Regions from separate parts of the Homo sapiens genome. Here regions 1 and 3 are each linked to region 2. Evidence: promoter capture Hi-C in human tissues and cell types (Jung and others, 2019). All regions are on one chromosome and are shown on one strand. Each heading gives the region's core, a stretch centred on a gene start or on the middle of the fragment in contact. The rest is flanking DNA. Distances are from core to core; before and after follow the strand shown.

Evidence for each region. The method cuts DNA at HindIII sites, captures the fragments that hold promoters and counts their contacts. A contact is called where the count stands out against the background at its distance.
Region 1: a contact is called between a fragment that was not itself captured here and the fragment with the promoter of ASXL1 in region 2, in 2 of the 25 tissues and cell types used here (dorsolateral prefrontal cortex and spleen).
Region 3: a fragment that was not itself captured here is called in contact with the fragment with the promoter of ASXL1 in region 2 in 2 of the 25 tissues and cell types used here (IMR-90 fibroblasts and aorta).

What each region holds. Positions count from the first base shown.
Region 1 is chr20:31,943,194-31,947,252 of GRCh38, forward strand. It overlaps TTLL9 (tubulin tyrosine ligase like 9), which reads left to right. Exons shown (of 15, transcript NM_001008409.5): 15 at 1-1,807. It overlaps PDRG1 (p53 and DNA damage regulated 1), which reads right to left. Exons shown (of 5, transcript NM_030815.3): 4 at 3,303-3,383; 5 at 1,144-2,696. The coding sequence ends at 2,614. Among named protein-coding and RNA genes, the nearest start is that of PDRG1, 6.8 kb to the right of the region's middle. The HindIII fragment of the contact is 5,609 bases long and covers 1-4,059 here.
Region 2 is chr20:32,356,750-32,360,727 of GRCh38, forward strand. It overlaps ASXL1 (ASXL transcriptional regulator 1), which reads left to right and starts at 1,582. Exons shown (of 13, transcript NM_015338.6): 1 at 1,582-2,083. The coding sequence starts at 2,027. RefSeq lists silencers at 1,832-1,881, 2,122-2,281. The HindIII fragment of the contact is 13,760 bases long and covers 1-3,978 here.
Region 3 is chr20:32,775,435-32,779,174 of GRCh38, forward strand. The region is part of intron 1 of DNMT3B (DNA methyltransferase 3 beta); the gene reads left to right. Among named protein-coding and RNA genes, the nearest start is that of DNMT3B, 15 kb to the left of the region's middle. RefSeq lists enhancers at 1-393, 2,041-2,589, 2,625-3,126, 2,992-3,121, 3,628-3,740. The HindIII fragment of the contact is 3,440 bases long and covers 746-3,740 here.

The DNA.
Region 1 (4,059 bases), core at 76-2,575, 410 kb before region 2:
TCCAGCCCATCCCCAGGCATCTTTGCACCAGGAGACAGCCAATCACTGGGACTGGGGGAGGTTTAACCTTGACAAACTGACTTGGCAGTTAGGCCCAAAGAGAACAAATACAGCAAGTTCTGCTACCCCCAGGAGATCATATCTAATAAATGAGCACAGGCCCTACTTGGAGTCACTGGGCACCAGGCCTGGTTCCGGGGATACTGTTGGCTGCAGCCAAGTCCTCCTGGCTTTGACACTTGGATACCTCCCAAGTCAGTGCTGAAAAGGTCCTTCAGGAGCAAGAGTTTGGAGGCTAAGGAACTCGTCTTTAAGCTGTGCTTACACAGCAAGCAGTTATTAGATTGTGTGTTTATTGGGGGCCTGGGGAAGTACTGAGCCCTAAACACATCCTCTTCTCCTTGCATGTCAGGGGAGCCCATGGGGCTCCCTGACCATCATCTGAAAACCAGTGGGACAGGGCATCCCCATTTCTCAGATGGACAAGACAGACCAGGGAGGCAGAGCTTAGTGAGGGTCTCTGCAAAGGTGCATTTATCTAAGTCAGATGGGTGACTTAAGTGCTTCTCTAGGCCTTGTGTTTGAGATTGGGAGCTGAGCCAGAAACCGGAAAACCCTGGGCTCATGGGCAGGACAGCTTCGGGAGTTGAGTGTGAGTAAAAATCTGCCTTTTCACATCTTACATTGCTAAGCTTCCTCTTGGTTTAAGAGGGGTTGCAACAAGACTCGGGGCTGTTGGGGTAACTGTTCCAGGGGGGACTTACTCCCTCTACCACTCCGCCTGCTTCAGAGTAGTTTCTCTGGCTGCAAATGGTTGAATCTGCCTGCCTAGGTCAAGCCCGAAGGGAAGACTTTTGGAAGGAAAATACTGGCAAATCCAAGAAGTGAACCAGCCGACTTTAGGAAAGCCAGAAGCCAGGCTACTCTAGACCTTCTGCCTTCAGAGCATGAGGACTTCTCCCACTCATCCCTGTACCTGAGGCACACCAACCCAGACAGGTCCAGGCATGGACTCCAGGTTCCCTATTTCCAGAAGGAATGCGATTAGCTTTTTTTGGCCCAGCACCCACCCTGCCAGGGAGGAAGGGGCAATTTTCCAGTGATGAAATTGTGAATCAGGCAGTCACACTGGACAACATCTAGCAAGGTGAATTCTGCAACTCCCTACTTTATTTACATTTTAAAATAAGCAATATATTCATACGGTTTAAAATCCAAAGTTTACAAAAGGGTATAGGGTGACATCTCCTTCCCTCCCACCTGTGCGCCCCAACCCTGCAGGTGCTGTTCTGAGGGAATCACACTGTGCTTGCACAAAAATTATTAGCTTATAAGACACCAGCCTTCCCCTTGCTTTCCTCACTTGATGTATCTTGGAGCTTGTTCCTTATTCTTGATTATAGTTGTATGGTATTGCACTATCTGGAGCTAACACCTGTGACCCACACTCATGTTTTAAAAGTTTCTGCATTAGTCAAAAATATTTAAAAGGAGATTCAACTTCACAACCCATATGTCTAGCTTCTCTTGAAAACACGTAAGAACTGGCCATGACAGCCTGTGTTTCTATGTAACTATGAGCCAGAGCCAAGGAGCGGGGGGACCAGGAGAGGTGTGCCCCTGCCATGCTGCCATTTGTTATCACCCGCCTGTCAAATCACAGGTTTATTTCAAGGCAAGAACCATGTTCATAGGTTGTATTCTAAATGGAGTGGCGTGCCCTTACTGAAGGACTAGATGAGGCAAATAAAGACTAGTTGCTGCTATTCATTCATTCAGCTAACATTTATTGAGCCCTTAATGAACACATAAGAGTTTTGACTTCACGGCAGTTCATACTGGGACCTCAGACCACTGAAGGCAGACAGTAACGAGCAGTGCTGGCCGGGCCCCACTTTCAGAGGGGGCGGAAGGGCATCTTGACACGTGTCATATGGTAAGAGGCGCATCCACTCACCCAGGCCTGGTGCAGGACTCTGCAAGGCCCTCCTGAGTAAAGAGTGGCCACGAAGGGCTGCTAGGCAGCACCTACTCTTGGAATCAAGCAGGGAAAAAGTGCAAAATTGGAGCTGGCGGGAGGTGTGTGTGCCTGCCCCACAGATGGCTGTGGTGAGCCACAAAGCACCAAGATTCTGTTCTTCATTCAGCAACCACCCATGAGCCTCCTGCTTTATTCCAATCGCATGGCACCAGCCTGAAAACCTCTCTCCCTTCTGAGAGGAATGCTGGAATGACACTCCACTCTGCCCCTCCCTCCCTCCTTCCTTGCTCAGGGTCCATGTGAACAGCAGGCCATTGTTGGGAAGTGCCTGTTGCAGTCATTCTTACACCCCCACAGCCACTGCCCCACACACCCACTGGTGGCTACCAAGGCCCGTCAATAGATCTTGTGTCCACCGAGCCCTGGTGTCCAGGTCCAGCAGCCAGACAGGCTGAAGGTTCCCTCCTGCCATCACAGAGTAGCCAAGCACTACAAAGAGGTTTTCATGGCCAGATTCCTGACGGCTGGCCCCTTACAGGGCAGATCCTGTCCTTACAGGTGTCAAGGTTGGAGGGTCCTGGGTCCTCCATGACCCTGGGGGGTTGCTGGTCCCCCATCTTGGTTCTTGAGTCTCATCCTTTCAAGATGACCTTGAGAGCTTTAAGCTCATCCTGGTTGAGGGGGTTCAAGTTAAAACCCTTCAGCTCCGGTTTGCCTAGGAGAGAAGATGATCCATCAGCACGTCGGGCCTCCTGCTGGCTCTGGAGCCAGGCCCAGGAAAGGGGCTGACGCTGCACTAATGCTGCCAAACTCAGCCTGGAGGTCTGGCAGGGATGGGCCTCCAATTCTGCAATGCACCAGATGAGGCATCACCACTGCTCCTGTGTCACCAAGAGCCTGCAAACGCGTAACTCTGCTGCCCAAAGAACCTCAGGTTTTTCCAAGACCTGTGACCAATCTAGAGTGCTTGCATTTATCAAGAATTTCAGCTCTGACCTCACTCACTCACTGAAGCCTTCTGAGTTTCCTCAGTCAGAGCTATCTGATCCCCATGCCATGCCCCGATGTATAACGTGAGATCACCCCAAGCGGTTCCTGGGACCTGGAAAAGAAACTATGACAGGACTAGGACTGTAGAAGTCCCCCTGTCCATTCTGTCCCTGGGCAGCTACAACCAACCACTGTGCACACCTCCAGGGCCACTCACAGGCTGCCCCGGACACTGCCCATCTCTGAGGGTCGGACTTCCCATCCCTGCCCTTCAAAGTCCATGCTGATGATTCCCTCCCCTTCTTATCTCCAGTCCCTGCTAAGCCAATACCTTGGGCCTCAAAAAGGCGGTTGACCTTCACTTTAAGTTGCTTCCGCAGTTTTTCTATTTCTTTATCCAGATGATCTTGATCTGAAAAAATGAGGGGGGCAAGCAGAGGATAAGATTGTACCAGACAGACTTGATCCCAGTAGTGGAGAGGCCAGCCTCTCCCCAGCAAGGGCGTGTAGCTTTCAGGAAGGAAAAGGGGACATCAGAGGCCAACTGAGGAAGGATTAAAGTCTAGAAGGGACATGACCTGCTCAGGACCACTCAGAGAGCCCAGGACACAGCAGTCCCAACTCCCATTACACTGGCCTTTTCTGCATTATGCAAAGTACCTTGGGGTGGTCAGTGGATGGAGAAGGCAACATCAGGACTTTAGGCTGCCCTCCCACAATGAAATTATGGAAAATTCAAATGCACAAACAAAATAAGCATCTCTAGATTCAGCCCACCCTAGATGGCTGGAAAATGGATGCCTAAGAAATTTTACAAACCCAAGTCCATCAAGGTGAGGGGGTTTTAGAAAAACATGATTGTGTAAACATGTGACGTAAACAATCAACACGCAAGCAATGCTCAAGCTTAACTTAATTAGCCACTGTGAACAGAAAAGGGTCTTCTAGTGTCATGGACTGCCCCTGAGAAGAGTTGGTGTGATGACAGAGGTGGCTATCAAAGCTTGATTGACCAATTGACTGAAGTCACCCAGCCAATTCCACCTGCTCATGAGTGACATTCTGGCTAGCCTGTCTTCCCCACAGAC
Region 2 (3,978 bases), core at 332-2,831:
GAGTACTGTATCAGCCGTAGATTGAAAAAAAAGAAGTTAAAAATCCTTTGTAAAAAATCAAGGCAAACAGTTTTTTGAGGGACAGTAGTTCCTCCTTTCTCTCAGGGTAAAGCTAGAGAGATTTTTAAGAGGTGTCTTATTCTAACTTGCAGTCTTTTCCCTTTGTAGGATTTTGCTTACCGGACTCACAAGTTTTCTGTGACCAGTATTAGAAGCAGAAAACACTGAACCCCTTGGCGTTAGAGTTTGGGCTACACCATAATGGTCTCCTATCAATACTGGCTCTCGCTACGTGTTAACATTAGGGAGTGGAGAGTGTGTTTCCTCACCCAGGGAAACCGTTTAAATGTGGCCACTGATCCTGCCTTCATAGTTTTTAAGAGCTGGCATCAATCCAACTCCGGACGGACTCTAGAAATGTTTCTGGACAACGACTGAACCTATAGTTACAGAAAACCTATGTGCTGGGCGCTCTGAATTTCATTTCAGGTTCTAAAACTAAGGCTCAGAGAGGCTAAGTATATTGCCTATTGTTTCTCAGCTGGTAATAACAGCTACCATTTATTAAACATTTGCTCTATGCCAGGCGCCATATCATACGGACCTGATAATGTCAAGATCTCCCTTCACATCCTCTTCCAATCTGTCAAGAATTGTATGTTAATTTTAATTCCAATAATGCCATGAAATACAAGACAAATGCAGATCAGAAAACTGAGGCTCAGAGAGGTTGAGTGGACAGCCAGGGAGTGACTCAGCCAAGATTCCAGTCTAGGTCCGCTGGACTCCAGGGCCTGAATTCTCTCCAGGGTACTGCCTCTAAAAACGCCCTCAGGTGCATTCTGGTCAGTATGGCCCCAGAGTCCAAGTTCTTTACACGACCCGTCAACATATCACCAAGTTCCTAAGAACGCTCTAGGCTGCTGGTGCAGGCTCTGCAAATACACAGCGGCCTGAAAGCACAGGAAGAAATGAAGAACCGTCTAAGTCCATCAGCCGTGGAATAACCGTTTTACTGGTATGAGGGTCTTTTTGTCTCATTATTATGTGGCAGTGAGTCATTTAGAGGTGACCAAAAGGGAAAGTCCTGCCTCTCGTCCCCTACGAGAAGTGTAGGTAAGAACCGTTTAGGCGAGGAGAAGCACGAAGTGGGAACTGCGAGTCGAGCTCCCCATCCTCACTCCCCACCCGCACCCGCCAGGAGGTCCTGAAGCAAAAAGCACCGAAGGGGTTAAGGGTGGCCGGGGGAGCCCAGCCACCGCCCCTTCCCAGCATCGCCTCCCAGAATCCCGCAGGCCCCCAGCCAGTTCTCGCACCTCGCGAGACTCCACCCAGCCCCTTCCCCGAACAGCGACCCGTCCCCGTTCCTAGCTGAGGTCGGTGCTAGGCGGAGGACGCGAGAGGGAGAGCGGAAGGGGGCCGCCGGGCACGCCGGGAAGTGTGGTCCACGCGCTTCACGCGGCCATATTCTTCCGGAGCGGGGGAGGCCAGAGAGGCCGTTGGGACTACGACTCCCAGGCGCCCTTTCGGTTTGTTTTTGTTCAAAAAAAAAAAACCCCACACTCCCCCTCCTCACTCTTCACACACACTCACACACACCCACGGCAGACACGCACGCACCCGGGCGCCGAAGGGAAAGCCGCGTCTCGCCCTCCCGCCCCGCCGTCGGTCCTGTCTCAGTCCCTCAGCAGAGCGGGAAAGCGGAGGCCGGAGCCGTGACCTCTGACCCCGTGGTTATGCGGAGCCGCCGCATTCCTTAGCGATCGCGGGGCAGCCGCCGCTGCCGCCGTGGGCGACTGACGCAGCGCGGGCGCGTGGAGCCGCCGCCGCCCCTCCCCCACCGCCGCTCTCGCGCCAGCCGGTCCCCGCGTGCCCGCCCCTTCTCCCCGGCCGCACCCGAGACCTCGCGCGCCGCCGCTGCCACGCGCCCCCCCCACCGCCGCCGCCGCCCCAGCCCCGCGCCACCGCCCCAGCCCGCCCAGCCCGGAGGTCCCGCGTGGAGCTGCCGCCGCCGCCGGGGAGAAGGATGAAGGACAAACAGAAGAAGAAGAAGGAGCGCACGTGGGCCGAGGCCGCGCGCCTGGTGAGGCGGACAGCCGAGGGGGGCTCCGTGGGGCCCGGGGTGGGGGGGGCTCGCCGCGCACCCCCCCACTGGGGGGGGAGGGGCAAGGCCCTGCCCACCGCGGGAGGGGGCGGGGCCATCTTCCTTTAAGAACGGGACAGCCCCGCAAGGCGAGGGGTGGGGAGCGCTCCGCCGGGATGGGATGTGGCGCCTTTTTCCGCTCGCCCTCGCGCCCCCCCCGCCCCGCGCAGCTAAATTCCGGCGGAGGGGCGAGCTGGCAGGCCGGCTCCTCCCACTCTGGGCAGCGGGGTCCCGCGTCCCCTCCCCCACTATTTGGCAGCGTCTGGGGGTCTGGGGCAGCTTCGTTCATTCACCCGGGGGAGTTGGGTTTCCGGGAAGGGTCGGAAGCTCCTCCCTCGCTTCCTGGTGGGTAATGGGGTGGTGCCTTTGACTCCGGGGGTGGAAAAGCGACCCCACATTCAAGGACGCCAATGGCATGTTGAGCTTTCCCAATCTAAACCAGGTGCGTGGAGGGAAGCAAGTGCTTACTCCCAGCTTGAACCCTGAGCAGCGGTTCTCTAACTTTAGTGTCCTGTGGGCGACACCTGGGAGGCGGTTAGGAACGCTACTCCTAGGGCCCTTCGTAAGACCTGCTGAGCCTCAGGGTCTGGGATAGAGCCTGGGAATCTGCGCTTTCACCAGCTTCCCAGGTGATTCAAACGCAGTGGCTCACGGACCCCACTTTGAGAAACGCAGACTGGGCTGTTTGCCTTCAGAAGCTGGACTGGAAATTGGTATTTTGAGGAGAACTGAATCCACTTTGCAAAGAATGTATGTTGGACAAAGACAAAGTATCTCTGTTGGGAGACGTTGTTCACTGAGGATTTAGCAAGGGAGAGCGTAACTTGAGTGTTTGAAGCCGTCTCGTTCAACCGATGGGGGTTGTGAATTTTGTGTTCAGAGCGTCAGAGGACTTGCAGGTGAAATAGCTTCCTTTTGGATTACTCCCACAAAGCTCAGACACTTTGAGACATATTCGGGTAATTATCTGCTGATACCAGTAGTAACAGGTTATACTAAGATGTCAGTTCCTAAGATCTGTCACACAGCGAGGTTGTGGTGCGGATAGCATAAGTGTCTCTTGACACTGTAGTTTATATGTAATGGTTGTAATTCAGTTTTAATGATGAGTGAAGCTCAGACTTAATTTTCTCTCTTATTTTGAAGTGAGTTTTCTGCTTCAAAGGTGTTGTGCAAAAAAAAAAAAAATAGACTGTATTGGGGGGGTTGACACAAACCTGAAGTACACCTTTTTCTTTCTCGAAGTCTGTAAAAGTTACAGATTTATAAAAACTGAAGGAATTTGGGCTACAGAATTTTCATTGGTGCTTGCTATCCTCTTCCCTAGTCATTTGTTGCCCAGGGAACAAAAATAGCAATTGTTTGTATGCTGAAGTTTTGTGCTTCAGTTTATTTTGGCCTGGCATGTGAAGTTTGAAGATTTTGAGGTTCCGAAATATTTTTTTTCTGATTGAGTCAAAATTGGAAGCTTGGGCTAGTTTTCAGGATCTTGTAGAAATTTCAGGATTTCTCTAACGGTTCTGCACCTGGAAACAAATATAGGCCTGATGGGGAGTGGGAGAGAGCTCTCGTTCTCCTCCTCGACAATGAGTTTTGTGTGTTCATTGACATTCTCCTTGGCGTTCCTGTTATGCGGGTGTTTATGACCCTGGGCACCCAAGGAAATTTGCTTGCCAGAGTTTTACTTGTTAGAGGTAGGTGAAAGTACTTTTAAGTCTTGTGTTATTTATGTCTTGACAGAATTATGAAATCTGTTTGTCTCAAAGTTCTGTTGGCTCTTACTAGTTGACTTTAGGAATTTGGGGTCCACTGTTAAGTCTCTTTAGATTCTCGAA
Region 3 (3,740 bases), core at 1,216-3,715, 420 kb after region 2:
TGAGCCTCCTCTGAGTCTAATTGGGGGTTGCCACCTACCCCTCTGTCTGCCACATTGCATTTGAGTACATCTGACCTGGTTCAGTCGGGGCACAGGCACCCTGCTGCACTAATGAGGAAGGCCCCTCGGGGAGAAGCTTGTGGGTGGGCCCACCCAGCACTGCTGCCCACTCTGAATCACACGCTGGACCCCAGCCTCTGGGAAAGGGTCAGAGTTCACCTCTCATCACAAGGTTAGGCAGCCACCTCCTGTGAAGGGAAACGCTCAGCTGGTATATCATGTCCCAGCCACGAAGCTCCCTTCATCCCTGGGATGGGTGATGCATTCATTGTTCATAACTTCTGTAATTCTTGTCTGTCTTGTCTCAGTTACGGCAATTCCAGGCACGTGCCCTGGATTGCCTGGGCATGAGATTTGGCACTGCCACTTCTCTGGGTGACTTAACTCATCTGAGTCTGTTGAAGGCAGGGGGATAATAAGACCTGCCCCAGGATGGGGTGGGGGTTAAAGGAGGTGGCAGACAGGCTGGGTGCAGTGGCTCACGCCTGTAATCCCAGGCCAAGGCGAGTAGATCACCTGAGGTCAGGAGTTTGAGACCAGCCTGGCCAACATGGTGAAACCACGTCTCTTCTAAAAATACAAAAATTAGCCAGGCATGGTGGTGCAAGTCTGTAATCCCAGCTACTCGGGAGGCTGAGGCAGGAGAATCGCTTGAACCCGGGAGGTGGAGGTTGCAGTGAGCCGAGATCGCGCCACTGCACTCCAGCCCAGGTGACAGAGACTTGATCTTAAAAAAAGAAAAAAAAAAAAAAATCCATGGTGGTAGACAGTGTTCAGCCTACAGTAAGTAGGGCCCTGGGAACTGTTAGCTACTTAATGTTACAGTGGCAGTGTGGGATGATGCAGTTCTAAATCCAGCATGTCTGCCACTCTGGATAGGTCATATTAGATAAAGCAGTTGGCTTGTGATGGGGGCCATGTTATCTGGAAATGCCAGCCTTGAATCATGAAGTCAGTGAGATACATAGAAAAGAGGTGGGGGAGATTTGTATCCACTGGTACACACCTGATGCTAATTTAATTTCTCTTGTCCTGATTCTAAGAACATGTAGTTAAATTTGTATGTTATTTACTTTCCCTATATATTGATCAAGGAGGTAGTATGTCAGTCTCTGTCTTGGTTTCTCCATCTGCAAAACAGGAATAACAGTACTTACCACATTTAAAGGTTAAATGAGTTAAGATAAGTAAAGCCAAAACAGTGCCTGACACATAGTAACACTGAAAAAAAGATGACCTTATTGGGGGGATTTTTATATATTTATATATGTGGGAAGAAAGGCCTAGGAGAGAAGCTTTTATTCCTGGATTTTGAGCTGTGGGTTTTGAGGTCTGAGAAAGGAAGCAGGAGGTGTAGGGAGTTGGGGAGGGCTTCCAGGCTGAGAGAACACAGCAGCACATGCCTCGAGGCTAGATTGTCTTGGCCTGCGTGTAGACTGAAGCGGGGTGGGGGAGGAACTGAGCTGGGCATCTTTAGTCATGGGTGCAGGTTCTGAAGTTGGTGTGCGCTGTCTACACAGCTGTGGCTATAAGGCAATGAGGGTAGTTAATTTCACTACAAACGTAGGGTCGTGATAAAAACAGAAGGAATTTTAAATGAAATCACATTGAATTATGCAACGAGAAGAAAGCATATATAAGTGCTCAGCTTGCTCCTGGGGGACACCCAGGTAGCTAGTGCCATTTATTGTGGGTTTTCTTCCTGGACTGTCTCTCCAGTACCCACAGGTCTTGTTCTAGGGGCTTGAGGCTTTTCCTGAATGTTGAGATATGGGTTTTGGAAGGTGTGCTGCCCACACGTTGGGTAGGCTGGTGGCCAGTTGGCACTGCTGAGGCCCTGGGGGAAGGCCCAGGGTGGTTAATCATTGTCAGCCTGGGTCTGTCTAGGAGGTGAGACTCCTGTCTGGCTTCTTGTTGACCCAGTTAGGGCCTGTCTGAGGAATGGGGTTCAATGTTGCCTGCGAAACCCAGCACACATTAGAACCCCAGGCCCTGGATGAAGGCGAAGGAGGTCACATCCTTCACTCCAGGCCTCTGGTCTGCTACCAGCTCCTGGCCACAAACAAACCCTGTGTGTCCTCCCCCCAGAGCACTTTGGGGAGGTGGACCCTCCTGGAGACACCAGGTACACCAGGTAGCCCCACCTCCCACTCTATGCCAGGCCCACTAGGTTACTTAGTTCACTGATTTGGCCTGAGGTGAAACGCTTGAAATTAATGATTATTCTGAACCGACACCGCAGCAGCTTTCCTGGGATTCTGACTGCTTTGTCTCATAGGAACTGGCCATAGGTCAGCCAGCCTGTTCTTCCGGGTCAGGGCTTGGGAGAAAAAGGGCTGAGAAGCAGCTGATTGGTCTGATTCAGGCACGTCCCTTGTCCTTGGTAGGGGAAATTCCTTAACAGGTGCTGATACACACTCTGGATCATGTGAAGCACAGAAAGCCTATGTGTTATGTATCAGCGCACATGTTTATAATCTGAACAATGCTGCTTTAACATGCATATTAATCACCTAGGCATGACTTGTGTGTGTTAAAATGTCTTGTGAAAATCCCGCTTCAGGCCGGGTGTGGTGGCTCACGCCTGTAATCCCAGCACTTTGGTAGGCTGAGGTGGGCAGATCACGAGGACAAGACATCGAGACCATCCTGGCCAACATGGTGAAACCTGTCTCTACTAAAAATACAAAAATCAGCTGGGCGTGGTGGCGCATGCCTGTAATCCCAGCTACTCAGGAGGCTGAGGCAGGAGAATCGCTTGAACCTGGGAGGCAGAGGTTGCGGTGAGCTGAGATCGTGCCATTGCATTCCAGCCTGGCGGAGGTCGCACCACTGCACTGCAGCCTGGCGACAGAGGGAGACTCTGTCTCAAAAAAAAAAAAAATGAAAACCCTGCTTCAGGACATCTAGCTTAGTGGTGGAGATTTCTCCAGCCAGCTCCCACTTCCAACAGTTCTTCCAAGCAGCTCTCAGTTCATGGTACTGTAGCCTGCGTGGCTCCTGGGCCACACAGGGAGTAGCAGCAGAGGTCCAGTTGCCCCATGCCATGGGCAGGTGCAGGGTCTGGAATTGGGAGCTCTCACCACAGATTGCACCTCTGCCTGGGGGCGCCACTGGGCTCATCAGACTGAGCTCACGGTGCCCCCTGGTGGGCGATGCCAGTGGCGCCAGTGCAGCTTGGAGCCCGCAATACAAGGTGTGGCTTCTAGAAGGTACCCTGGTTTGAGATGCTGAGGTGGGAGGATCCCTTGAGGCCAGGAGTTTGAGGCCAGCCTGGGCAACATAGCCAGACTCTGTTTCTACAAAAAATTAGCCACACCTGGTGGCACACACCTGTGGGCCCAGCTGGAGGATCACTGAAGCCCTGGGAGTTGAAGCCTACAGGGAGCCGTGATCACGCCACTGCACTCCAGCCTGGGTGACCAAGTGAGACCCTGTCTCTAAGATAGATGGATGGATGGATGGATGGATGGATGGATGGATGGACAGATAGAAGATAAACTGCGAGGCTAGCACGGGTTGTCTGGCAGGGGCTGGTATGTCTCCACGATGGAGCCCGAGGCAGGGAGGCCCGGTGCATATGGCAGCAGCTTATTGGGGAAGCTTTTCCCAGGCACGGTTCCAGGACACAAGGGTGTGGTGTGAGTGACCTGGAGCTGTTTGTGGTTCAGGGATGGGGG